Regions from separate parts of the Homo sapiens genome. Here regions 1, 2 and 3 are each linked to region 4. Evidence: promoter capture Hi-C in 16 types of primary human blood cells and fetal thymus (Javierre and others, 2016). All regions are on one chromosome and are shown on one strand. Each heading gives the region's core, a stretch centred on a gene start or on the middle of the fragment in contact. The rest is flanking DNA. Distances are from core to core; before and after follow the strand shown.

Region 1 (6,714 bases), core at 1,639-4,138, 260 kb after region 4:
AGAGACAGGGTTTCACCATGTTGATCAGGCTGTTATCAAACTCCTGAGTTCAGGTGATCTGCCTGCCTTGGCCTCCCAAAGTGCTGGGATTACAGATGTAAGCCACTGCATCTGGCCTAAGGTTTGTTAATTTTGTTGAACATTTTTTTTTTTTTTTGAGACAGAGTCCCTCTCTGTCGCCAGGCTGGAGTGCAGTGGCACTATCTTGGCTCACTGCAACCTCCACCTCCCGGGTTCAAGTGATTCTCCTGCCTCACCCTCCCAAGTAGCTGGGACTACAGGCACACACCACCATGCCCAGCTAATTTTTGTATTTTTAGTGGAGATGGGGTTTCACCATATTGGCTAGGATGGTCTCAATCTCTTGACCTCGTGATCCGCCCACCTCAGCCTCCCAAAGTGCTGGGATTACAGGCGTGAGCCATCGAGCCCAGCCTTTTGTTGATCTTTTCAAACAAACAACTTTTGGTTTTTATTGATTCTCTCTATTGTTTTCTCTATTTCTTATTTCATTTATCTCTGCTCTAGTCTTCATTTCTTTCTTTCTGCTACCATTTGTTTTTCTTTTTCTACTTCCTTAGATTGTAAAGTGTGGTTGTAGATTCAACATCTTTCTCCCTTTTTCTTTTTTTTTAAATTTTTTATTGATATATAATATTTGTACATTTTTATGGGGTGCATGTGGTATTTTGTTATATGCATAGCATATGTAATGATCAAGTCAGGGCATTTAGGGTATATGCCATTGTGAAAAAACATTTAAATGGTTCATTTTCAGGGCATGATAAATCTATGTACTAGCAGCCACCCTGCAGATGTGACAAACTGAATGGCTCATGCACCTAGAAAATCATCATAAGAGAACAAGATGTAGAAGAAGGGTCAGCCCATAAAAGGTGAGAAAGTTTCATTATTGGGAAGTTGAAACATAGGCAGGGAAGGGGACCAGAGTATAACCTTATAAGGGGATAATGAAACTTAGGTGACGTCTGGGAAGATTGTAACCCTGTAGTACTCAACCAGTAAGGAACTGGGGGAAAGACTTGCATGCTAGGAGATAAATTACCTGCTGTAACTGCCCCAGGTGTGCCTGCCTACCAGACATCTGATCTTGCAAGATTGCCATTAAAAGTCTTGCTTCTGCTGCACTTCCTGTCTCTGAGTCCATTATTTGATTTTGGACAGGTGAGCGTTTCTCACAAACTTGGGGGCTCATCCAGGATCTCTGTGCCTGCATGGAATGGGACTCCAGCCAAGAGGGGAGACACATCTCACCCAATTTTAGGTGGCCCGCTCTGTGCAGGTGTCCCAGCTCCCCACATAGGCCATAGACAAACCTGAGATTGTTATTCAGCAGGCAGCAGAGGTGACATAGGGAGAAAAGCAGACACTATGGCAACCAGGCAACCTTGTGCATGAGCCAAGGTAGGAAAACCAGACTGTAAGTACCACCTTGGTGGTTGGGCATTTTTGGAGGTTGAGTGTGTGTGACTGAGACATACCCTAGATACGAAGCAAGCACGGAGTCCCAATCCACAGTTCCGTTCTCCTGCGAGGGAATCGGCAGGAAACAGATGAAGCGATTCTCAGGGTGTGCAAGAAACCTCCAGTAGGAGGGTTGAGTACATAGGGAAAGGCCCAGACACAGAGACTGGCCAAAAATGGGAAACAGAAATTCTAGGCCTAGGGACAAAGGAAAGAGGGAGCCAAAGAGACTCCCTCTGACATTCCCCCAGATAGTCCTTTGGGGTGAATGAATGTTGCAGGTTTGGAGGGACAACCCTGCAGCCAGGGACAAGGAAAAGCAAAAGTTGATAAAGTATTGCTGTTTTACCTGACCCAAAGACCCCATTCATAAGCCTTCAGTCTTTTGGCCTAAGGTTGGCTCAGATGAGGATTGGGTGTGCCAAGCTTTAATTCTCTATGTGAATGATAAAACCCCATCTGCACAGGAGAAGATAGGTTATGCTGTCTGTGGGATCAAGGAATTAGCCCCCATGTTCCCCCCTCAAAGAAGAAGAAAAAGAGCCTAGTAAAAAGCCCTTGCCCAGTGAAAAGCCCTGGGACCCCCTATCATGGGAGCCCCCTCCATATGTCTCACAAAATAGGGGACAGGGAGATCAAGGGGCAGCAGGAGAGTTAGAGAAAGAAAGACCTGGAGACCATGGGGGAGCTGAACCAACTGCTCCTTTAGACCCTTATCCAAATTTAAGAAAAGAATTAGAATAATGTAAAAGAGATATTGAGAACTTCCCTATCCCCTCCAAACAGCAAACATCTAGCATGTTCCCTCTTAGGGAAGTTCCCACAGGACAGAAAGAGATTGGCTTTGTAAACGCTCCTCTTACAAGTACTGAAGTTAGGAATTTCAAGAAGGTAATGAAACCACTCCTAGAGGATCCCCTTCATTTAGCAGACAAGTTGTACCAATTCCTAGGACCAGCTTTTATACCTGGACTGAAATAATGCCTATCATGAATATCTTATTCACAGGAGAAGAAAGAGGAATGATTAGGAGGGTGGCAATGACCATCTGGAAGAGGCAACATCCTCCGAGGAAAGGAGTCTTGCCAGCCAAACAAAAAATTTCCAAATGTCAATCCCGAATGGGATAATAATGATCCCAGGGACCAGGCCCAAATGCAGGACCTCAGGGAACTAATAATTAAAGGGATCAAATAATTGACTTCTAGGACACAAAATGTCTCAAATGTCTCAAAGATTCAACAAGAAAAAGAGGAAACTCCCTCTGCATTCCTGCAGAGGCTCAGAGATCAGATGAGAAAATACTCTGGATTAGATCTGGAGGCCCCAGTAGGGCAAGGCCTTTTGAATGTTAACTTTGTAACTAAGAGCTAGCCTGACATTACAAAAAAATTACAGAAGATTGATGGTTGGAATGAAAAATCAATTGAGGAATTACTGAGGGAAGCTCAAAAAGATCTTTGTGAGAAGAGAAGAGGAGAAACAGAAACAAAAAGCGAAAATAATGGTTTCCACTGCAGAGGAGGTAGTCAGGAAGAAGTTAGATCAAGACCCCTCTCAGAGGAGACAAGAAAATACTAGGTTTCAGCAAAAAGACAGAAGAGAAATACAAGGAAAAACTCCTAAGACTGTAAGTGGATGTTACAAGTGTGGAAAACCAGGACATTTTAAAAGAGAATGTCCAGAATGGAAAAAGGAAGAGAAGTAATCCACTGTATGACTTTTGATGAAGATTAGGGAGTCAGGGGTTCCTTGTAAGTAGGTCCCACCAGGAACTCTTGATAAATTTGAGGGTGGGACCCGATGGGGAAGAAGTAACATTTTTGCTTGATACTGGGCTGTCTCTCTCCTTCCTAATTAATCAACCAAGGGGTACAGGACTCGAAGGAAAAATTGACAGTATCAGGGGTAAAAGGGGAGGGATTTCAGGTTCTGATATTCAAGAAAATGGTAATTAGATTAGGACCAGAACAAATAGAGGGGTCACTCTTATATGTTCCTGAAGCAGGCAACTAACCTCCTGAGTTGAGACCTGATTGTGAGATTGGGTTTAGGATTAGGAATAGAGGAAGGACAAATAAAAGTAATGATGGGCCTCCTAACAGAGGAGCAGGAAAGAAAAGATGTCCCCTAGACTTTAGGAGTAGGGATCTCTTTGCCTTTGAATGGGAAAATCCCATAACTGGCAGAAAACAACAGTACTGCTGGACTGTGCTGCCACAAGGCTTCACAGATGCCTCAAACTTATTTGGTCAAATCTTAGAAAAAGTCCTGAAGGAATTCCAACCTTCCAGGGGAAACCAGTTATTACAATATGTAGATGATCTTTTAATTTCTAGGGAGAGGAAGACCAAAGTATCAGAAACCACCATAAGCTTGCTTAATTCCCTAGGAGAAAGGGGGTTGCAAATCTCTAAGAACAAATTGCAGTTTGTAGAAAAATAAGTTAAATATTTAGGATACCTGATTAATGAAGGGAGGTGGAGAATAAACCCAGAAAGAATACCAGGAATAGTGGGCTTCTGCCTAAGACAAAGAAAGAACTCTGAAAATTTTTAGGTTTAACTGGCTACTGGAGGTTATGGATTGACTCATGTGCTCAAAAGACAAAGATCCTGTATCTCAAGTCACAAGAAGAGGAACCTGATCCTTTGCAGTAGTCCCCAGAGGAAATTCAGGCAGTGAAAGTGAGAGGTGACAGCGTGCTGGCAGCCCTCGCAGCCCTCGCTGGCTCTCAGCACCTCCTCGGCCTCACTGGCCGTGCTTGAGGAGCCCTTCAGCCTGCAGCTGCACTATGGGAGCCCCTCTCTGGGCTGGCCGAGGCCGAAGCCAGCTCCCTCTGCTTGCAGGGAGGTGTGGAGGGAGAGGCATGGGCGGGAACCGGGGCTGCATGTGGCACTCACGGGCCAGGGCGAGTTCCAGGTGGGCACAGGCTTGGCAGGCCCCGCACTCCGAGCGGCCGGCCAGCGCCGCCGGCCCCAGGCAGTGAGGGGCTTAGCACCTGGGCCAGCAGCTGCAGAGGGGGCGCCGGGTCCCCCAGCACTGCTAGCCCGCCTGTGCCATGCTCAAATTCTCTCTGGGCCTCAGCCGCCTCCCCGCAAGGCAGGGCTCAGGAATGGCAGCCCGTCATGCCCGAGCCCCCACCCTGCAGTAGTCTCCCGCATGGCCTGAGCCTCCCCGACAGGTGCCACCCCCTGCTCCACAGTGCCTGGTCCCATCGACCGCCCAAGGGCTGAGGAATGCAGGCGTACACCCGCTGCCCCGGCGAGGGATCCACTAGGCAAAGCCAGCTGGGCTCCTGAGTCGGGTGGGGACTTGGAGAACTTTTATGTCTAGCAGGAGGATTGTATATGCACCAATCAGCACTCTGTGTCTGGCTCAGAGTTCGTGGATGCACCAATTAGCACTCTGTATCTAGCTAATCTGGTGGGGACTTGGAGAACTTTTACATCTAGCTAAAGGATTGTAAACGCACGAATCAGCACTCTGTGTCTAGCTAAAGGTTTGTAAATGCACCAATCAGTGCTCTGTACCTACCTAATCTGGTGGGGACTTGGAGAACTTTTATGTCTAGCTAGAGGATTGTAAATGCGCCAATCAGTACCCTGTGTCTAGCTAATCTGGTGGGGACTTGGAGAATCTTTATGTCTAGCTAAGGGATTGTAAATACACCAATCAGGACTCTGTGCCTAGCTCAAGGTTTGTAAACACACCAATCAGCACCCTGTGTCTAGCTAATCTGGTGGGGACTTGGAGAATCTTTATGTCTAGCTAAGGGATTGTAAATACACCAATAGCACTCTGTGTCTAGCTCAAGGTTTGTAAACACACCAGTCAGCACCCTGTGTCTAGCTCAAGGTTTGTAAATGCACCAACCAGTGCTCTGTGGGGACTTGGAGAACTTTTGTGTCTAGCTCAGGGATTGTAAACACACCAATCAGCACCCTGTCAAAATGCACCAATCAGCAGGATGTAGGTGGGGCCAGATAAGGAAATAAAAGCAGGCTGCCCCAGCCAGCAGTGGCAACCTGCTCGGGTCTCCTTTCACACTGTGGAGGCTTTGTTCTTTTGCTCTTTGCAATAAATCTTGCTGCTGCTCACTCTTTGGGTCCGCACTGCCTTTGTGAACTGTAACACTCACTGTGAAGGTCTGCAGCTTCACTCCTGAGCCAGCGAGACCACGAACCCACCAGAAGGAAGAAACTCCAAACACATCCAAACATCAGAATGAACAAACTCCAGACACTCTGGCTTTAAGAACTATAACACTCACCGCAAGGGTCTGCGGCTTCATTCTTGAAGTCAGTGAAATCAAGAACCCACCAATTCCAGACACAAAAGAGCTAAAGCAGGCCCTCCTTACAGCCCCGGTCCTGGCCCTCCCATCTTTAGAGAAACCATTCCATCTATTTGTAACAGTAGACCAGGGTGTGGCTCTTGGGGTGCTCACTCAAACCTGGGGAGGGAAGAGGCAACCTGTTGCTTTTGTCTCCAAGCTTCTCAATCCTGTCTCTTGAGGATAGCCCAAATGTGTGCAAGTAGTAGCTGCCACAGCCCTGCTGGCAGATGAGAGTCAAAAGTTAACCTTTGCTGGGGCCTAACAGTGAGCACCCCACATCGGGTCAGGAATATATTAAATCAAAAAGCCAAGAGATGGTTAATGGATTCTTGGATTCTAAAATATGAAGCCATGTTACTAGAAAAAGATGATTTGGTCATAACAACAGATACTTGCCTGAATCCAGCCAGTTTCTTATGGAAAGGAGAGAAGAACAAAGAGGCATCAGTCCATAACTGCCTTAGATATCATAGAATACCAAATCAAAGTTAGCCCAGACCTTAGAGAAGCTCCCCTACATGGTAGGATAAGCCTGTTTGTGGATGTGTCATCCAGAGTGATAGATGCCAAGAAACATAACAGTCATGCTGTCATTAATAAAAATAAACACTCCTTATGTGAGGAAGGTAGATTACCTAATGGCTGGTCAGCCCAAACTTGTGAATTATATGCTCTTAACCAGGCCATAAAGCTCCTTGAAGGCCAAGAAGGCACTATATATACTGATTCTAAATATGCCTATGGGGTGGTACACAGTTTTGGAAAAATCTGGACAGAGCAGGGCCTAATAAATAGCAAGGGAAAAGAATTGGTACTTGGGGAACTGGTCAGACAGGTTTTAGAAACCTCCTTCTTCCAGCAGAAGTAACCATAGTTCATATAAATGGTCA
Region 2 (6,573 bases), core at 2,540-5,039, 320 kb after region 4:
GGCCCCATCCCAAGGGCCCATAGGTACATGTGGAACTGTAAGGTGAGACTGGGGCAGGAGGGGGTGCCCAAGGCACACTGCAAGTGGGAGGCACGGCATAGGCACCAGGAGTACCAGACACTAGGGGCACCGTTGGTGGGGGGGGCAGGCAAGGATAGCCAGAAGGGGACACATGAGGATAACAAGGCCAGGATGGCAAGGGGGCATAGTGAGTAAACGGATCAGGTAGTACTGGCCCCATAGACAATGGAAGACTAGGAGGCTGCAAGGGAGGTGGGGGCAGACTGGGGGGCATGCCAAGCCCACCTGCAGGGAAAGGCAGGGCAGCAGACATCGAGGGAGGTGTGGGCACAGCAGGGGACACAGACTGCACAGGAGGGGAAGGTCTCGCCAACAGTGGCATCTCCTGGGATGGCACCTGCTCAGTGGGAGATGAGGCCACAGGTTTGCTTACAGGTGGCTCAGGACTAGGAGAAGCAGGGCTGGGACCTACAGGCACAAGGCAAATCTCAAGGGGTGTTTCAGGGCTTCTCTGCAGAGCTGTCTTCTTGGCTGGGGCTGGTGGGATGACAAGACAAGGGATGTCTGCCAGCCCTGTGGGAGTCTCTGGAAGGCTAGGCCACTTCCCAGTTGGGGGCTGTGGACTTCTCTCTTCTGTTTCTGCTTGGCGTTGCTGCCTTCGTCGCCGGTACTCAGATAAGCTGAGAGGCCGAGGTCTGGCTTCATGGGTTGTAGCACTGGTACCACTTTCAATTTTCAGAGAATCCACAACCTCTTTGACTTCAGGGATGATGGTCTTTGGTGGGTCCAAGGACTCTGACTCCACGAGGAGCTGGGGTGCTGAACCCCCCAGGGCTGATGACACTGCACCACGTCTGGGATCAGTTGGTCTGGACTTAACTAGCACTGGGTCAACTGGAGTCAGGTCATTAGGAACAGGGTCAACCAGTGCTAGATCAACTGGTGCTGGGCCAGACGGGACAGCATCAACTGGTGGCAAGTTATCTGAGATGGGAACCACTGCAGGGTCAACTGCTGCTGAGTCAGCCAGGACTGGGTTGATCAGCACTGGCTCAGCCGGGAGAGGCTCAACCAGTTCTGAGCTGGTTGAAGCAAGGTCAACCAACCCAGGGTCAACAGGTACAGGGCCAGCTAGAACAGGGCCAACTGCAGTGGGATCAGCTTCAACAGAGTCAACTGGCATGGGGCTGGCTTGGGCAGAGTCGACCAATGAGAGATGGGTTGGTATAGGATTGGTTTGGATAGTGTCAGCCAGCTTTGGGTAGAGGTCTAGAGGGCCTTCTTTAGCAGGACTACTTTGTCCAGCACTTCTCTCCAAGTTCTTAGGGCTAGAATTCTCCAAGGCAGCTGCCCAGGCCCGAGCCCAAGCCCGGGGCTTCCCCTTACCCTGGAGAGGCCCAGACTCTTTTTGAAGTTCTTCCTGAGGCTGTTTCTGCAAGTTGTCTACCTGAGAGGTCACTTCTGTACCTACAGTAGACTGCCCGCGAGAAGATGACCTCAGCCTCCTGGCATAGCCTTCCACACAGGCTGCTGGCTGCTCCTTGCTCTTCTTCTTCCTGCCCTTTCGAGCTCTCTGGGAACCTGGTGCTGCATTGGCAGGTGGGTTCTGAGGCTCCTTGGGCACCACCGGCTCCACGACCTCCCTGGGCTTCAATAAGCAGGCTGAGTCCAGCTTCTCCTCTGAGTTCAATGACAACCCCTCTTTCTCAGAGCAGAGGGTTACCTTGGGCACAGCAGCCTCTGTCTCTGACTCCAGTGTAGGCATAAGCAGCTGCAAGGCAGAACTAGTCTCTAGCGAGTCATCCAGGAGCACAGGCCGGGGTCCAGGAGAGACCTGTCGCACCACAACTGGGATCTCCAGGTCATCGCCAGCTGTGGCTGCCTGCCCCACAATCTCCAGCACTACGCAGCCCTCAGGCAGTGTCAAATCATCTGGCTGCTCCTGAAGCTCATCCTCAAGTGATGCCAGGTGGGTGAGGTTGGGCAGGCAGTATGGGTGCATGGCCCGCACCAGCTCACTCAGGGAGGAGATGCTCTCATCACCAGCTGCTGGCACTGCCATCTCTGCTGCTGTTGCTTTATCTTCCTCCTCAGGGCAGGCCAAATGCATGGGGAAGTCCGGGATACTGCTCACACAGTTGTCAAGCTCCCCGGCAAGAATCTGGCCACTGAAGCTGGCCACCTCCTCCTCTTCTTCTCCATCACTGCGCTGCTGGGGAGGTGGGGATTGGCCCCAGCGTGGTCTTGATCTTGGGGGTCTCCAGCTAGGAAGCTTGGGGGAAGAGGTCTCTAAGAAAGAGGGTGGGGAGAAGTCCCAAGAGGGATCTGGAAGAGACATTTCAACCTGCAGGAGAGAAGAGAGGTCTCAGGAGGAGTTTTCTTTGGGAAAGTATTTTCCAGACCTGTCCCCACACACTCCTCCTCCCACCTGGGAGTTTCTGAAACCCTCTAGGTCAGGCTTACCCCACTCCCTCTACTGCTGCCTGTACTGGGCCCCAGTGGGTCAACTGGGGTGATGAGGTCACGTTCTGGGGGTGTCCGAGAGAGAGTAAGCAGCTTGTGCAGCTAAGAGGGAAAGAAAGACCTGAGATCAGTCTATGCTTCAGAGCTATATGAGTAGGTCCACAGGCATGGGTCTAAACTTTGTACTAATCCCCTTCCCCTGGTCCCACACTCACAGAGGAGCCCTCCCGGGGTGACACAAGCAGCTCCGAATCAGGAATGCTGTCAAATGGAGAAAGGTTCTCAGAATCTGCATTGTCCAAGATCTCCGTCAGAGCCGTGAGCAGCGACACTTCATTCTGGTCCTCCAGAGATAACCTGCTCTGCTCCAGAAAAACAACCAGAAGGTCCTACCAACATCCCTAATGACCTACTATGCCACTAAGGACTGGATATCGAGAGAATCAGTCTCCCAGGTTCAACTCAGCTAATGGGGCAGCGAGAAGGATCTGAATACCAGAAGGCATGGATTCCAATCTCAGCTACCATCCACCAGCTCTTGGTGTCAACAGAGACCTGTCAGACTTGACTCAAGCTTGGGTTTCACACATTCCCCTACCCTCAGATAAGATGTGGGATGCTCAGCAGACAACCATCGGCTAGGCTAGAAATGAGCTGAAAAACAGAGATCAGAATCCTCTGGACATGTAGTTCAGGGGCCCAGACAGTGGGAAAGGCCTTGGACTATAGTCTAAGCTAGGAAAGGAATTCTTACATGGGACATAATCTGGCAGCCTGCAGCCTAATTCCCACTTAGAGACAAAAAATACACTTCAAGGATTCAGGTTGGGCACCCAGGAAGAAGCTAAGGTCCTGGGAGAGCAGAGCCATGCCAAGAATTTGAGCTAGAACCTCCCATGTAAACCTCCTGCTTGAAGATTTCAGAGTCCAGCCCCAGCTCACCTCTCCAAGGCTCCCAAAATCCTCAATGAGGGAGATAAGGGAGGCATCCATGTAGCTCTGCATGGTCCCCAGCAGTGTCTCATCCTGCAGCATTAGCTCCTCCATTTCCAGGTCCTTGTCCCTCAGAGATGGGCCCAGCCGAGAGAGACTGACAAAGCCAGAATCACCCGCCTCCTCATGCAGCAGCACCTGGAGCAGAGAAGAAGGTGAGAAGGGTATGAGCTCTCTGGCAGCAGCTGATAATATGCTCCATAAATCAGGTACCCTCCACTGCTGGGGCCAAACTCAGCAGCAGCAACACTGTCGCCAAACTTCTGGGCTAGCAGAGCAGAGAGAAGCACAACCTATGAGCAAAAACCCCAATAAGGATGGCAGTTTTCAGGGACCTTCTGGGGCAGAAAAATGTTTGGGCTCCAACCAGAAACAGCTAGAGTCACAGATTAAAACCCGGGAGTAAAAACATCAGGAAAATCAAGATTGTTCAGAATCATCTACTGGCAGCAGTGAAGATAACAGTCTGAGGGGCACACCAAAGCAAAAGAGGTCAGCAAGGAGACAGCTTCAGCTCCAACAACCTCACCTACCTCAAATCCCATTTAGTTCTCTGCTTAGTGCAAATCCTACCTTCTTCAAGAAGACACCCCAGCTTCCCCAGCCCACGGTGATCTCTCCTCACAACTCTAAAATCACAGACTTTTCTGCAGCATTAACTTTTCTGGTAATCACACCCCACCCCCTACCCCCATCCCCATGACACTCATGGGTTCGGTCTCCTGGGTTCAAGCGATTCTCCTGCCTCAGCCTCCGGAGCAGCTGGGATTATAGGCGCCCACCACCACGCCCAGCTAATTTTTGTATTTTTAGTAGAGACAGGGTTTCACCTTATTGGCCAGGCTGGTCTCAAACTCCAAATCTCAAGTAATCCGCCCGACTCAGCCTCTGAAAGTGCTGTGATTACAGGCGTGAGCCGCCACGCCCGGCCGACACTTATTTTGAAGGCCCAACAGTGAGACACTCAACCTCTCAATGGTAATTCCAAGGGAAGGGCCTCTTCTCCACTCCTACCAGATGAGAGCAAGTGAAGAGAAAGCTTGATTCCCTAGATGGAAAGGCCCCGCCCCACACTCCTCTAAGAACTAGCAGCATTTACGGCCTCTCGTGTCAGGCATCAAGCAGCCCGCCCAGACCTGTCAAGAGTGTGGGTGTGGGCAGGGCCGGAAGGGACCAGAATGGTAGTGGTGAGGCCAGAGCCAGGGGGATCTCCACTACAGTAGTCCCCCCTTATCCTAGAGGGATACATTCCAAGATCCCCAGTAGATGCCTGAAACCACAGATACTACCAATACATTGGTATGTATTGATACAAACAATACATACCAACGATGAAGTTTAACTTATAAATTAAGCACAATAAGAAATTAATAATAAAATAGATTAAAACAATATACTATAATAAAAGTTATGCGAATGTGGGCTCTCTGGCTCTCAGAATATCTCACTGTACTGTACTCATGTATTTTTAGACCCCAGTTGACAGCAGGTTAACAGAAACTGTGGATAAGGGGAAACTACCGCATAGGAAACATGAAGTAAAAAGGCCTGAGAACAGGATCACATACAGACAGGCCAGACCTTCCCTTTCCTCTTCTGCAACAAAGTGAAATTCCGCACCACTTCCAAAAGAAAAAAGCAACAGGTGTCTTCCACACCCCCACCCCCCACACCCCGGCAATATATACCCTCCTAACAGAGCTGAGTACCAACGCCCAGGAAAAGGAAAGGCTGGTTAAGGACGCGTTAGGAGGCCAGGCCCAGAGAATAAGCAAAAAGTGGTAGGTTTTAGGCACTAACTCCTCCCAGGCCTTCACAATCCTATAATTACAAACCAGCAGCTGAATAGCACCTGGCTCTGCAAACACTCCAGGGTGAGCCAAGAGGCTGCAACTCCATTTGCTCTGCCACCACCTACCTACCAGAGCCCCAGCGACTAAGCTGGAATCTCAAGACAATGCCCAGCTCTCTATGAACCACTCATCTTCACCTCCATCAGGTGTCCAGTCAGAGACACACCCTCACACCTGACCTCACCCATCACTCAATTCCCAAACAGCACAGCTCCCAGAGTACCAAGATCATCCGAGTGCTAAGCCCAGGCTGAAAGTAAGCCAGCCATCAGCACCTCTAACTTCAAAAACCTCCCAAGTAGCTTTCACCCACCAAACCTGCTCCCTCCAGGGTTCAAAAACAGTCAGAAACTTTTTAAATATGTATCTGATCACTGCCTGAGACCCTCCCTAAATCCCTTCAATGGCATTTTACTGCTCTTAGCATTAGGTTTAAACTCTTTAATATAGCTTACAGGCCGGGTGTGGTGGCTCACGCCTGTAATCCCAGCACTTTGGGAGGCTGAGGTGGGTGGATCACTTGAGGTCAGGAGTTCAAGACCAGCCTGACCAATATGGTGAAACCCTGTCTCTACTAAAAATACAAAAATTAGCCATGTGTGGTGGTGCTTGCCTGTAATCCCTGCTACTCAGGAGTCTGAGGCAGGGGAATTGCATGAACCCAGGAGATGGAGGTTGCAGTGAGCCAAGATCACACCACTGCACTCCAACCTGGGTGACAAAGCAAGACTCCATTTCAAAAACAACAACAAAACAACAAAATATATATATATATAGCTTACAAAAGTCCTGTCTTCCCCACCAGACCTCTGCTCCAGCGTGTCCTCTCCCACTACTCTGTAGTACAGGTCTCGGTTTCTCCAATAAGCCATGCTCTCTTCCTCCTTGAGGGCTTCACTTTTCCCTGATTAAAGGTTTTCCACAGTTTTAACATCTCAGCTTTAAATGTCCCGTCTCAGACTCTGCAAAGTAGATCACTACTGCCAATTACATAATCCCAAATATCCTGCACTTTTGTCTCATTCATTATTATTTATCATCGGTCTATCCTGATTAAAACATAGATCCTGAGGGATAAAGACCATGTTTATGTGGTTTACCAGTTTGTCCCCTGTGCCTAAACATAATGGTATTTCAATAAATAACTGGCTGACTGACCAGCTCACATATACCCATCTTTGGTTTTCGGGGGAAGGGAATGACAATCTCTCCATGAGATCCTCTCCAATCCCAAATTACTACT
Region 3 (6,701 bases), core at 3,831-6,330, 280 kb after region 4:
AACCAGTTCCTGGCCAGGTGTGGTGGCTCACACCTGTAATCCCAGCACTTTGGGAGGCCGAGGTGGGTGGATCATGAGGTCAGGAGATCGAGACCATCCTGGCTAACATGGTGAAACCCTGTCTCTCCTAAAAATACAAAAAAAAAAAATTAGCCAGGCGTGGTGGTGGGCACCTGTGGTCCCAGCTATTCGGGAGGCTAAGGCAGGAGAATGGCGTGAACCCAGGAGGCGGAGCTTGCAGTGAGCCAAGATCATGCCACTGCACTCCAGCCTGGGTGACAGAGCAAGGCTCTGTCTCAAAATAATAATAATAATAATAATAATAATGATAATAAAACCAGTTCCTTCAATTGTGCCCTGTTACAAAAGAAAATATGTTGTTGGTTTTTTTTTTTTTTTTTTTTTTTGAGATGGACACTCGCTCTGTTGCCCAGGCTGGAGTGCAGTGGCACAATCTTGGCTCATTGCAAGCTCTGCCTCCTGGGTTCACGTCATTCTCCTGCCTCAGCCTTGCGAGTAGGTGGGACTACAGACGCCCACCACCACGCCCAGCTAATTTTTTGTGTTTTTAGTAGAGATGGGGTTTCACCGTGTTAGCCAGGATGGTCTCGACCTCCTGACCTCGTGATCCGCCCACCTCGGCCTCCCAGAGTGCTGGGATTACAGGAGTGAGCCACCGCGCCTGGCTGAAAATATGTTGTTATTAAGTATATGCAAACATATACATTGCCATGAATTAAGAATATTCACAAATAGTTTACAAATTTTGGAGAAATTAGGCAGAGAGAGATATATGACTCAAATTCTGTTTACAAAAGTATACTCAGCTGGGTGCGATGGCTCACGTCTGTAATCCCAGCACTTTGGGAGGCTGAGGCTGGTGGATCACTTGAGGTCAGGAGTTTGAGACCAGCCTGGCCAACATGGTGAAACCCTGTCTCCACTAAAAATACAAAAATTAGCCAGACATGGTGGCGCACGCCTGTAATCCCAGCTACTCAGGAGGCTGGGGCAGGAGAATCACTTGGGTCCAGGAGGCGGAGGTTGCAGTGAGCCAAGATCACGCCACTGCACTCTAGCCTGGGCAACAGAGTGACACTCCATCTCAAAAAAATTAAAAAGTACACTGCACTTTTGCTGGGTGCAGTGGCTAGCACTTTGGGAGGCTAAGGCAAGCAGATCAGCTGAGGTCAGGAGTTCAAGACCAGCCTGGCCAACATGGCAAAATCCCATCTATACTGAAAATACAAAAATTAGCTGGGAGTGGTGGTGCACACCTGTAATCCCAGCTACTCAGTAGGCTGAGGCAGGATAATTGCTTGAACCCAGGAGGTGGAGGTTGCAGTGAGTCAAGATCACACCATTGCACTCCAGCCTGGGCAACAGAGCGAGACTCCATCTCAAAAAAAAAAAAAAAGTATACTCCACTTAATACACTTAAAGTATGCTTAAAGGCTATAAACAGCTCAAAAGGAAAAATTATTCAGACTCTGAAAAAACAAAAAGAATCAGCAATATAGCTGGGCGTGGTCACTCACACCTGTAATCCCAGCAGTTTGGGAGGCTGAGGTGGGTGGACCACCTGAGGTCAGGAGTTCGAGACCAGCCTGACCAACATAGAGAAACCCTGTCTCTACTAAAAATACAAAATTAGCTGGGCATGGTGATGCATGCCTGAAATGCCAGCTACTCAGGAGGCTGAGGCAGGAGAATCACTTGAACCTGGGAGGCAGAGGTTGCAGTGAGCCAAGATCCGCCACTGCACTCCAGCCTGAGCAACAAGAGGGAAACTCCGTCTCAAACAAACAAACAAACAAAAGAATCAGCAATATTTCAAACAAAAAGCCATAAAAACTATTTCAGTTTCAGTTTCAATTCATGCAATCAACTCTTGCTCTGTTTCATATTGAGTTAGCAATCTTTATGAACACACCAGCTTTTCAATTACAGTCCTGGAAGTTTTCTCTCTAATTCAGTGGCACAAACCCCAAAGTTATCAGAAACCTGCAAATCAAAAGTCCTTTTAATGAACTCCTCCAAAGAAGCAAGCCCTGGACTGTAGCTGATTGTAAGTCACTTTTTGAGAAGAATCAAAGCAAAACATCGATTGTGGTTGACAAAAGTCTTTTTTTTTTTTTTGAGACAGAGTCTTGCTTTGTTCCCTGGCCTAGAGCACAGTAACACAATCTCAGCTCACTGCAATCTCTGCCTCCTAGGTTCAAGCAATTCTCCTGCCTCAGTCTCCTGAGTACCTGGGACTACAGGTGTTCGCTGCAGATCTGAGCCTCCCTGTGCTCTTGTTGGGGCCAGGAGCAGGCAGGATCCATCCCTTCCTGGGTGCAGCTGCAGCAACTTGGTCCACAGCTCCAGATACAGGCCTCCAGTTCCACAGAGCAGGCAGGAACCCCACCCCGCTGTGGGGTGCTGCAGCCGCCCAAATTGGGGCTGCAGACCCAGGCATCCCTGCACTCTTGGGGGGCCTGAAAAGGCCCCCTCCTTGCCCTTGTAGGCTCAGAGTTGCCTGCTCCTGCTGCTTGGCCTCTCCCTGCTCTTGCTGCTTGGCCTTTCCCTGCTCCCGGTGCCCACTCTGATCTTGGACCAGGCTTGGGGCCAAGTCCAGGGGCTGTCACAGTGCTGCCAGGTGTGTGCAAGCTCAGGGCAGTGCTGACACGCCAGTCCCCTGCTGCCCTGCCCCCCTCTGGACTTTGGGCACTGAGGAGTGCAGGAAGGGAAGTTGAGAGGGGCTGAGAGTGACTGGTGCTGGCCTGCAGGTGCCCCTTGGTGCCAGCAGCCTGGGCACTATGGATGGCTGTGGAAGGCAGACAGGCTCCTGGGTGGAAGGGGGCAAGTCCCCAGTGAAGCCCCACCTTCATGCCAGGACAGGCCTGAAGTGTGGGGGCCAGGCTGCCATTCCTGCTGATTGGAGGAGGAACTCATGGTGCTTTTTCCTGTGGACCAGTCAGCACACACTCCCTTCCCCGAGCCACATAAAAGCCCTGGGCTCAGCCACAGCAGGGCAGAGGTTGGGGAGACAACAAGAGGACCAAATGCAGAGAGGAGCTATTCCCCCTGCTGATAGCTAGAGACAATGGGATGGCCAGCTGGCAGAAAGGAGCTACCCTCTCTGCTAAGAGCTTCAGAGACCAGAAGAGACATTGCGTGGACCAGCTTCAGAGAGGAGCCATCCTCTCCAGGGCCTCCTCTCTGCTGAGGGCAGCATACGTCAAGATGACCAGTAGCAGACAGGAGCTGTCCTCTCCAGGGCCTCCTCTCTGCTGAGAGCAGCAGACGTTGGGACAACGAGTAACAGAAAGGAGCTACCCACTGTGCGTCTCCCCTGAGCTGCTCTAATACTAAATAAAGCTCCTCTTTGTCTGGTTCACTTGCCTGAGTACCTCATTCTTCCTGAACGCAGGACAAGAACTCAGGCAAAGCACCACTGGCCACAGAGGTTTCTGGCCAGAAAAATTGACATCCAGTGATCCCGTAATACTACTTTTCAAAAAATTTTCATGAAGATCATTTGTTTTGGCTGGGTTTATAATTTTATAACCTTCTATGCCAAACCCTGAAACCTCAAAATATCTACCAGAGACAAATATAAAATCCAGACAAAAATGTATGCTCACAATTTTGAAGACATTTTTATTTTCATTTTACCAATAATTTTACAGCCAGCTGGTTTCGAAAAAATTTACTTAACTCACACGAACTTGAAAATTGCTTTGACTTATTTAATTTATGAGTGCTGTTTTACTTATAAGCCAATTTGGTAGACACAACATATACCAATAAGGGTACATACAAATAAACACATCTAAACATGAATATACACACATAAACAAAGATCCAATAGCTTTTACCTTGGAACTATAGCTATGAGATAGCAATACAAGCTTACTGGTTTTACATGGTTACACTTTGTCCCAGTAGGTAATTCAGTGAAGGCTGTGAATCAAAATTTTGGGTATAGTAGTTTCCATGGCAGTTTGATTTTTAAAGGCCAAACCTCCTCAGACTCCAAAGAACATTGGGGTCAAACAGCAACAAAGGAGAACATCACATACCTGCCAGGCCCAACCTTGCTTAGAACAGCAGCACAAAAGCCTGGATACACACAACTCCATCCCACTTTCCCATTCAGCAGCAAACTCCAGATTCCAAACAGCAAACGCCAGATTCCAAACAACACTGGGGCCAACAGTATTGCAAATGAATATCAGTTTACCGAATTCTAACTTCTCATGACTATATAAAACACACACAAATGATCACCAAAACACAATCCAACTGCTGCAGCAAAAAACAAGCCCCAAGAGTGTCCAAACTCAAACAGTCAGGGTGCTTCCTCTCTTCATTGGTTGGGCTTGATCAAATGCAAACAAAAATTCCTTAGGAAATTTCCCAAATTGAGAGGAACTGATCCCGCTGTCTGGTACACACACGAGGCACTCACTTGCCCAGACACAACATACAATTATAAACTAGCCCCCAAGAGTGTCCACATAAAAACAGTCAGGGTGTTTCCCTCCCTCAGTCAGTTGGGCTTGTTCAACCTGCAAATGAAAATTCTTTTAAAAATTTCCCAAATTGAGAGGAGCAAATCCTGCTGTCTGGGCCCACAAAGGATACTCACCTATCTGGATGCAGATGTCCAATTTCGAAGGCTATTCTTCCAAGGCAATCAGGAGGATGGTTGGGGCTGACCATGGTGGGGCCAGAGAGAAACTGAAACTCACTTCCAGCTGATATTGGTCAATAGATGGGCATGGTGCATGCCTGTAGTCCAGCTACTGGGGAGGCTGAGGCAGGAGAATAACTTGAACCTGGTGAAGTGGCTACATTGTCTGGGGTATATGCCCTCAGGTATATATTTATCATTGTCACAGGCCAGGAAAATTTAGGACACAGACACACACAAGGGGTTTAGGAGCAGAGGTTTAATAGGTAGAAGAGAAAAGAGAAATAGCTTCCTCTATAGAAGAAGAGGTCTCCGAATGGAAAGGACTGGCTGGTAGTGAAGACACCAGTTTGAGGAGGCAGTGTCTGATTTAGTGTGGACTGTTTTAATGTGTCTTGATTTACATAGGGCTCACAGATTGGTTTGATCAGCTATGACGTTTACATAGTGCTCAGGAAAGGCTGGTTGCCCCACCCTAATCTTGTTACGCAAATGGCCTTTCCAGTTGATCGACACCATCTGTTTTTTTTTTCTTTTTCTTTTTTTTTTTTTTTTTTTTTGAGACAGAGTTTTGCTCTCGTTATCCAGGCTGGAGTGCAATGGTGCGATCTCAGCTCGCTGCAACTTCTGACTCCCCGGTTCAAGCAATTCTCCTGCCTCAGCCGCCTGAGCAGCTGGGACTATAGGCGCCCACCACCACGCCCAGCTAATTTTTATATTTTTAGTAGAGGCGAGGTGATCGACACCATCTGGTCTGCTCCTTACAGTACACATGACTGGCAGAGAAGGGAAGATGAAGTCGCTATCTTGAACATGTCTACTCCTTAGTTCCTGCTGGCATTCACCCTTGCAAACTCCCAGGTTTCAGGCTGCTCTTTGTTAGAAAATGATTTGGGGCAGCTTTTCATTAAAAAAGAAAAAGAAAAGCCTTACTGAGGATTCCCGTACCCTGGCTATCTGCCCAAGTGATTTCTTCTGACTCCTATAGCACTGGGAGGCAGAGGTTGCAGTGAGCCAAGATTGTGCCACTGCACTACAGCCTGGGTGACACTGTGAGACTCCATCTCAAAGGAAATAAAATAAAATAATAAAATAAAATAAAATTTGTCAGGCAGCTGCATAAGAGGGCTTCTGAGACTCCACCCATGGCAGCTGAGCCACAAGCAACATGTTCCCAGTCAGGGAACCAAAATATGTTATTGAAACATCAGGGGTTCAGTCTAGGTCCTACAGCTCGCTGCACAGAAAGCCAATGACTGAGATGACAAGTATTGCCAAGGAAGAAGGCTTTAATCGGGTGCTGCAGCTGAGAAGATGGGAGCTCAAAACCTCAAATCCATCTCCCTGATCAACTAAAACAAGGGTTTTATACAGAGGGGAAGAAATGTAATGTGTAAGAAAACAGGAAGTAGGGAGGGCCAAGGAAGTAATCATGATGAATGAGGGGTCCAAAGTCTCATTGTCTGGATGTAGTGATCTGGTGAGTTTCAGTTCATTGATACTTTTTTTTTGCGGGGGAGAAGCCTGAAGGTCATTTACTAATGAAGGAACTCAAATAAAGCAAATATAAGTTTCAAGCTTTAAGACCAGAAAGATAAATTTTTATGTTTATCCAAAACAATAGTCTCTGGAACTATTGGGTTGATTTCATTTGTTTGTTTTTTACCTTTTAAGTTCAGGGGTACATGTGCAGGTTTGTTATATAAGCAAATTTGTACTTGTCACAGCGGTTTGTTGTACAGATTATTTCTTCACCCAAGTATAAAGTCTAGTATTAGTTATTTTTTCTGATCCTCTCTCTCCTCCCATCTTCCACCCTCCAGTAGGCTCCAGTGTCTGTTGTTCCCCTCTTTGTGCCAATGTGTTCTCATCATTTACCTCCCACTTATAAGTGAGAACATGCAGTGATATGTTTGGCTCTGTGTCCCCACCCAGATCTCATCTTGTAGCTCCAATAAGATGTGGGAGGGACCCAGTGGGAGATGACTGAATCATGGGGGTGGGTCTTTCCTGTGCTGTT
Region 4 (6,905 bases), core at 2,747-5,246:
TGCAGTGGCTCAATCTCAGCTCACTGCAACCTCCGCCTCCTGGGTTCAAGCAATTCTCCTTCCTCAGTCTCCTCAGTAGCTGGGATTACAGGCGCCTGCCACCACACTCGGCTAATTTTTTTTCTTTTTGTAGAGATGGAGTCTTGCTCTGTCGCCCAGGCTGGAGTGCAGTGGCGCAATCTAGGCTCACTGCAACCTCTGCCTCCTGGGTTCAAGCCATTCTCCTGCCTCAGCCTCCTGAGTAGCTGGGATTTACAGGCGCACGCCACCACACTCGGCAAATTTTTTTTTTGTATATTTAGTAGAGACGGGGTTTCACCATATTGGTCAGGCTGGTCTCAAACTCCTGACCTTGTGATCCGCCTGCCTCGGCCTCCCAAAGTACTGGGATTGCAGCCATGAGCCTCCACACCCGGCCTAATTTTTGTATTTTTCATAGAACTGGGGTTTCACCATATTGGCCAGGCTGGTCTTGAACTCCTGACCTCAAGTGATTTACCTGCCTCGGCCTCCCAAAGTGTTGGGATTACAGGTGTGAGCCACTATGCCTGGCCCACAGTAGCCATTTTCTTTTTCTTTTTCCTCTTTTTTTTTTTTTTTTGAGACAGAGTCTCGCTCTGTTGCCCAGGCTGGAGTGCAGTGGCACAATCTCGGCTTACTGCAACCTCTGCCTCCCAGGTTCAAGCAATTCTCCTGCTTCAGCCACCCGAGTAGCTGGGATTACAGGCATGCACCACCACGCCCAGCTAATTTTTGTATTTTTAGTAGAGACAGGGTTTCACCATGTTGGTCAGGTTAGTCTTGAACTCCTGACCTTGTGATCCACCCACCTTGGCCTCCCAAACTGCTGGGATTACAGGCATGAGCCACTGCGCCCGGCCTACAGTAGCCATTTTCTTTCCATTTCTTTGAAGTTTGGTTTCATGATTTTTTTTTTTTTGAGACGGAGTCTCACTCTGTCGCCCAGGCTAGAGTGCAGTGGTGGGATCTTGGCTCACTGCAACCTCCGCCTCCCAGGTTCAAGAAATTTTCCTGCCTCAGCCTCCCAAATGGTTGGGATCACAGGCGTGCGCCACCATGCCTGGCTAATTTTTGTATTTTTTGTACAGACGGGGTTTCGCCACGTTGGCCAGGCTGGTCTTGAACTCCTGACCTCAAGCAATCCGCCCGCCTTGGCCTCCTGAAGTGCTGGCTCACAGGCGAGAGCCACCGTGTGGTTTCATGATCTTTAAAGATCAGTCACTAGGTGGGGCGTTGTGGCTCATGCCTGTAATTTTAGGACTTGGGAAGGCCAAGACAGAAGGATTACTTGGGGCCAGAAGTTAGAGACCAGCTGGGGCAACATCAATCAAAAATAAAAATCATTGACCTTTCTGCCAAATCCATGATTGAAATTGTCTTTCCAGCACCCAAGCTTTATGCCTTTTGCCACCTGGAATATCCTAGCCCCTCTTGTCTGCCATCCATCAAATTCCTTTCTAAATGCCACCTCCACACTTTTGTTCATGCTGTTCCTGTCACCTAAGATACCCTAGGATAACTATATACTATTCCTCAGCCATACAGGGTATGCTTGGCTTTTATATCCATCATCAGACCCCTTACAGCTCTGTTACTATCTGCATTCACGTTCTGTACATGAAGAAACCAAGGCTCTGAAGATTAAATAACAGGCCCAAGTTACAAAGCTAGTAGGTGCTGGAGTCAAGATTCAAAACAGGTTTTGACTAAAACAACAGCGTTCTCACTTCATCATCCCCCCCACACCCTGCCCCCATCTTATCAAATCCTGCTCATCCAGTGTCACGGCTTTCCCAAGCACACCCAATCACGTGTTCTCTCCCGTTTTCCCCCTTATCAGGCATCCAAATGCCTCCCTTCCCCTCCTCCAGCCCACAGGCTTCTTAAAAGCAGGGCTGATACCGGGCGCGGTGGCTCACGCCTGTAATCCCAGCACTTGGGGAGGCCGACGCGGGCGAATCACGAGGTCAGGAGATCGAGATCATCCTGGCTAACACGATGAAACCTCCTCTCTACTAAAAATACAAAAATTAGCCAGGCGTGGTGGCGGGCACGCCTGTAGTACCAGCTTACTCGGGAGGCTGAGGCAGAATAGCGTGAACCCGGGAGGAGGAGCTTGCAGTGAGCCGAAATCGCGCCACTGCACTCCAGCCTGGAGGACAGAGTGAGACTCCGTCTCTTAAAAAAAAAAAAAAAAAAAGCAGGGCTGGGTTAGTCCCGCCCTTGATCCCTGCCCTTTGCCTCCACCAGGCTCCCTCAGCTTGCTCAGTCAATCCCTGCTGGGTCGATTGGCCCCTAAAAGGTCAATATCAACAACATCCTCAGCCCTAGGGAACAGCAGCAGCAGTCATAGGAAAACTGTCATCTTCAGACCCCACTGTGCCCCTCCTAGCTCTGTGTTCTGCTTAACTGTGGGAGTCAGAGAGAAGGGGCAGCCTGGGAGGCTTGATGTGCCTCTCTGAGTAAGACACTAAAGCAAGGCAGCAGGTACAAAGAAGAATAGTGATCATAACAGAGGAACATTTATTAAGCTTTCGCCGGGTGCACAGCACTGTGCTAAGAGACACAGAAACAATCTGGGAAGAGAGCTCAGAGCAGCGCGGGAGAAAGGGGCCACATCAGGAAGGGTTTTGTAAACCTTGTGCAAGATTCTATGCTGAGGACAACAGGTGGGGCGCTGGGGGTGGGGAAGTGACAGATCTGTTTGGAAGAAGCCCTCTAGCAGGTGTCAAAACTCTTCCCCTTCACCCTACCAGGCCCCTGGTAGGTAAAGACTAGAAAGGGATGGAAGCAGCAACATCTCCCTGATTTCTGAACCAACCTATGGTGGGTGGGGGAGGTTGATGAATTTAGTGGCGGAAACCAAGAATGCCGAACTGGGCCCCTGGAGTGAGAGGTATCAGACTGTACAAGAGACATTAGTGCAGAGGTAAAAGCTAAGAAGAGGCATAATTTGGAGTCAGGAGCCCTGGGTCAGGTGTGAACATTATCTTTAACTTACTATCTGAGTCTATTCCTACATCTGTGAAGCAGAGAAAACAATTCCATTCTCTGCCTATCCTCAGGAATACCAAATGAACAAATGAACATGAAAGGTATAATATGTGCCCTTTTCTCAACAGGCAGCTGACCCCTGAATTGTCTGCTGTGTTTCCTGTTTCACTCTCGGGGTCTTGTCTTCCTGCCCAGTCTCCCCACAGCAGGGTCTAGCACCAGGGTTGGGGGGTGGGGGCCCATCCTCCTCCTCCGGCTGGAAATGAGCTTTCAACTTGTTGAGATGGGGACCTTCTCCCTCTCCCTCCCCCACAGGTCCCAGAAGAGGCGACAGCTTCACCTCAGGACCACCCACCCCTCCCAAGCCACTGAGGAGTTTGGGATCAGCCCAGGAGCTCTTCACTCAATAGCTGGTGCTGAAACACGTGTAGGGCTGCTCCCCACCGCCTGCACGTTAAAATCACCTGAGGAGCTGTGCAATAATACCGAGGCCCAGGCCTCACCCAGAACAGTTAAATCGGAATCTCTTCGGGCGGGCCCAGCATCGGTGTTTTTCAAAGCTCCCCAAGTGCCACCAGGGTTAAATGCCTTTATGCTAATGGCACGGATCCCGACCTGACCAGTGCATCCCTCGATCCCAGACCACCAGGGAGCTATTTGACCCACTGCATCCCTTTCCTCCAGACCCCCGGAGAGCCTTTCTGCGAGGATTCCACCCTTGCCCCCTTGAACCCCGCTTCTTCCGCCCGGACCACACAACTCTCCCAATCCACAATATGATCACCCCAAAGACCCCCGCAGATAGCCCCCATGACTCCCAGAGCGCAAAGCATTCCCCTCCCCCTCGGGTCTGTCGTTTGTGCCAGATCGGCCCCAGCCCAGCCCGCTCCTGCCCGCGAGCCCCGGCCGCTGGCCAGCGTCTCACCGCAATCGTAGCCGGCGAAGCCTAATCCCACGGCTGGCGGGAGCCAGGTGCGAGCCAATGCGCCTGCGCGCACTTCTAGGGCTTCCCCAGCCTCTCCCTCCGCCCCCGCCCAGCGATTGGCTCCGCGCGGCCCCCGGGCGCAGCTCCGGCAGGTGACTGCGCCTGAGGCTGCCGCCGCCATGTTTGTCACGGGCGCTTGCCCTTAGCGACCAAAATTAAAAGCGGACACTGGCAAATAGGGTCAGGTTGCCTGGATTCCTGACCGGCTCAACCCCTCTCCTTTACCTCCACGATAGCTTAATGTCATTTCAGTTGAAACCAACACGTTTTTTCTAAGCGCTCACCTTCCTTCCCTCCTTGCCTAGTACTCGTTGGGAGAACAAAGAGAGGTCAGCATCCTCCATTGAGTCTTGTGGTCTGAGCGGATGCACAGCTGCAGCCGACTTGGAGGTGTCAGCGGCTCGATCTGGGACTCCCTGATGCTGCATCATGAGCCCTTCAAGGGTGGACAGGTCCAGGTTGAGCTGTGGGCACCAGGGCTCTAGCCACAGGAGCCAGGGCTGAAGGTGGGAAACAGCCACCAGGGCCTGAATGAGCAACCATGCAGCACAACCTCTTTGTATTAATAACGGCAATAATAAAACCTAAGGAGTACTGAGTGCTTGCTATGTGCACCGTACTACATTCAGAACAACACGTGCATTCTCTTGTTGAGTCCTCACATCATTCCTAGGAGGTAGGCGCTTTTATCCACATTTTATATGTGAAGAAACTGCATTTCAGAGAGATTCAATGACACGCAAACAGCAAGGGCCCAGTCGAGGTGGAACCCGCTATCCTGACTCCCATAACAAGAGTCTTTCCTCTTCCCACACCTGCACAATCCCTCAAAATCAAGTTTTGTTTGGCTCAATGTAGGCTGTGGAGGATGTTTTATGTTTTCTCCCAATTGGCCTGTAAGCCTGGATAGGTTTTTGGGCAAGCAAACAGCACACATTCCAGCTCTGCCTGGTTCCCCTACCTTGGGACACAGGGCAAAAAGCCTGTGGCCTTTGCCTTATGGGGGACTTGGAACTCAACCCCTAGCTCCAACACTTCTTTGCTAAGGGACTTCTTTATTATTATTTTTTGAAACAGGGTCTTGCTCTGTTGCTCAGGCTAGAGTGCAGTGGTGGCATGATCTCAGCTCACTGTAACCTCCACCTCCCTGGCTCAGATGATCCTCTCACCTTAGCCTCCCAAGTTGCTGGGACCACCACCTCACTCCACCATGCCTGGCTAATTTCTAGAATTATTTGTAGAGATGGAGTCTCACTATGTTACCCAGGCTGGTCTTGAACTCCTGGGCTCAAGGGACCCTCCCGCTTCAGCCTCCCAAAGTGCTGGAATGATAAGCGTGAGTCACTGCACCTGGCTGGGACCCTCCTTTTGTGAGTCTGTTTTATGCTTTACAGGGATTTTTCAGACATTAAATGAGAAACAAGGGTGTAGGAGCTTTGTGAACTGCTCATCCTTATGACCTTCATTGATGGTTGTCGGCTAACTTCCTGCAACAGGAATGTTGTCCTCCTCCTAACAACCACAGCAAATGGTCCAATGTAGACGCCTAGTGTCCAGGGGCTACAGATTATTCAACCAGTTCCTGAGGAGCCCCCAGGGATGCCATGAACCTTGCCCCCAGAATCCATCTCCCACTAACCTGTCTCATTTCCCTCCTTCCCAATCTCTCTCTTTCGGACACCCTTCACACTTCCCATGTCACCCCAAGCCACACATACACGCACACACATACATACAACCATCTCTCTTCTAGACTTAGACAACTGCTGAAACTCCTCCTGATCCAGAAAGCCTCATGAGTAGAAGACAGGTGATCATTTTGTCCCTCTCCTCACCTCTTACCTCCATCTGTGCTTTCCTGGCTGTGAGAACAGAAAACCCAGCATTCAGCCTGGGGTCCGGCACACTGGGATCTCCATACATTTGCTAAAGGAGTCTCCCCGCCTTTCTATCTGTGGCCAGCATGTGCTTTTATTTCAAAGCAAACCCGAGTCTTTACTTAGCCCTCCCTGGGTATCCAGTGGGGAAATGGAAATGGGGAGGGCTGGCAGGGGCCAGAGCTGGATGTGACCCAGGAGAAAAGACCTTTGGTCCCTCACAGCCAGGCAAGGTGGCTCACACCTGTAATCCCAGCACTTTGGGAGGCTGAGGTGGTTGGATCACGAGGTCAGGAGATCGAGACCATCCTGGCCAACATAGTGAAACCCCATCTCTACTAAAATACTAAAATTAGCTGGGCGTGGTAGCGTGTGCCTGTAATCCCAGCTACTCAGGAGGCTGAGGGAGGAGAACTGCTTGATCCAGGGAATCGGAATTTGCAGTGAGCCAAGATTGCACCACTGCACTCCAGCCTAGCGACAGAGTGAGACTCTGGCTAAAAAAAAAAAAAAAAGAAAAACAGAAAAAAGAAAAAAAGAAAAGACCTTTGGTCTCTCACGTTGCACTTAATGCCCCACAGTTACACTCTGAGGCCCCTCAACCCTCTGATTATATAGACAACGTAGCCAGTTACCTTTTATGTCAGCATCAGGGCAGGGCCTTGTGATTCTGTCTGATTTCTCTTTGTGGTTGCCAGTCACAGAGCTAACTGGGAGGGGAAATGCAATGAACTAGAGGCCATATCACCTCCCTAACTCATTGAGCCATACCGGAGTCCCTGGACCATGGGACAGATAGATTGTGCACTCTCTGTCTTTGAAATTCTCTCCTCCCTTTACTTCCCACCTCTCTGATCTAGTTTCTGCCATGTTCTCTTCCTACCTAATAATTCCTCCTCAGTCCCCTTCACTGCGGCACTTTCTCCCAGGGCCTCTAAAGGAAAAGGGAGGGTGTCCCAAGTTTCCATCTTGAATACTCATATACTCACTCAAACTTTTAATCCATGCCAGGCCACAGGCTGTGAGGT

What was found. The method cuts DNA at HindIII sites, captures the fragments that hold promoters and counts their contacts. A CHiCAGO score of 5 or more calls a contact.
Region 1: a contact is called between a fragment that was not itself captured here and the fragment with the promoter of SLC68A1 in region 4, in 1 of 17 cell types (endothelial precursors). The highest score is 5.2, in endothelial precursors.
Region 2: a fragment that was not itself captured here is called in contact with the fragment with the promoter of SLC68A1 in region 4 in 2 of 17 cell types (activated CD4 T cells and endothelial precursors); the score reaches 6.2 in activated CD4 T cells.
Region 3: a contact is called between a fragment that was not itself captured here and the fragment with the promoter of SLC68A1 in region 4, in 2 of 17 cell types (endothelial precursors and erythroblasts). The highest score is 7.2, in endothelial precursors.

The regions. Positions count from the first base shown.
Region 1 is chr10:102,198,884-102,205,597 of GRCh38, reverse strand. No RefSeq gene overlaps it. Among named protein-coding and RNA genes, the nearest start is that of ELOVL3, 24 kb to the left of the region's middle. The HindIII fragment of the contact is 1,949 bases long and covers 1,914-3,862 here.
Region 2 is chr10:102,134,892-102,141,464 of GRCh38, reverse strand. It overlaps PPRC1 (PPARG related coactivator 1), which reads right to left. Exons shown (of 14, transcript NM_015062.5): 2 at 3,427-3,615; 3 at 2,700-2,846; 4 at 2,485-2,586; 5 at 1-2,365. Among named protein-coding and RNA genes, the nearest start is that of PPRC1, 5.1 kb to the right of the region's middle. RefSeq lists an enhancer at 2,028-3,227. The HindIII fragment of the contact is 1,458 bases long and covers 3,061-4,518 here.
Region 3 is chr10:102,184,747-102,191,447 of GRCh38, reverse strand. No RefSeq gene overlaps it. Among named protein-coding and RNA genes, the nearest start is that of NOLC1, 36 kb to the right of the region's middle. The HindIII fragment of the contact is 2,363 bases long and covers 3,899-6,261 here.
Region 4 is chr10:102,458,486-102,465,390 of GRCh38, reverse strand. It overlaps SLC68A1 (solute carrier family 68 member 1), which reads right to left and starts at 3,996. Exons shown (of 10, transcript NM_024789.4): 1 at 3,941-3,996. LOC124902493 (a long non-coding RNA gene) reads left to right here. Exons shown (of 3, transcript XR_007062270.1): 3 at 3,331-4,598. RefSeq lists enhancers at 2,914-3,596, 3,597-4,280, 4,408-4,477 and a silencer at 3,918-4,137. The HindIII fragment of the contact is 5,189 bases long and covers 2,555-6,905 here.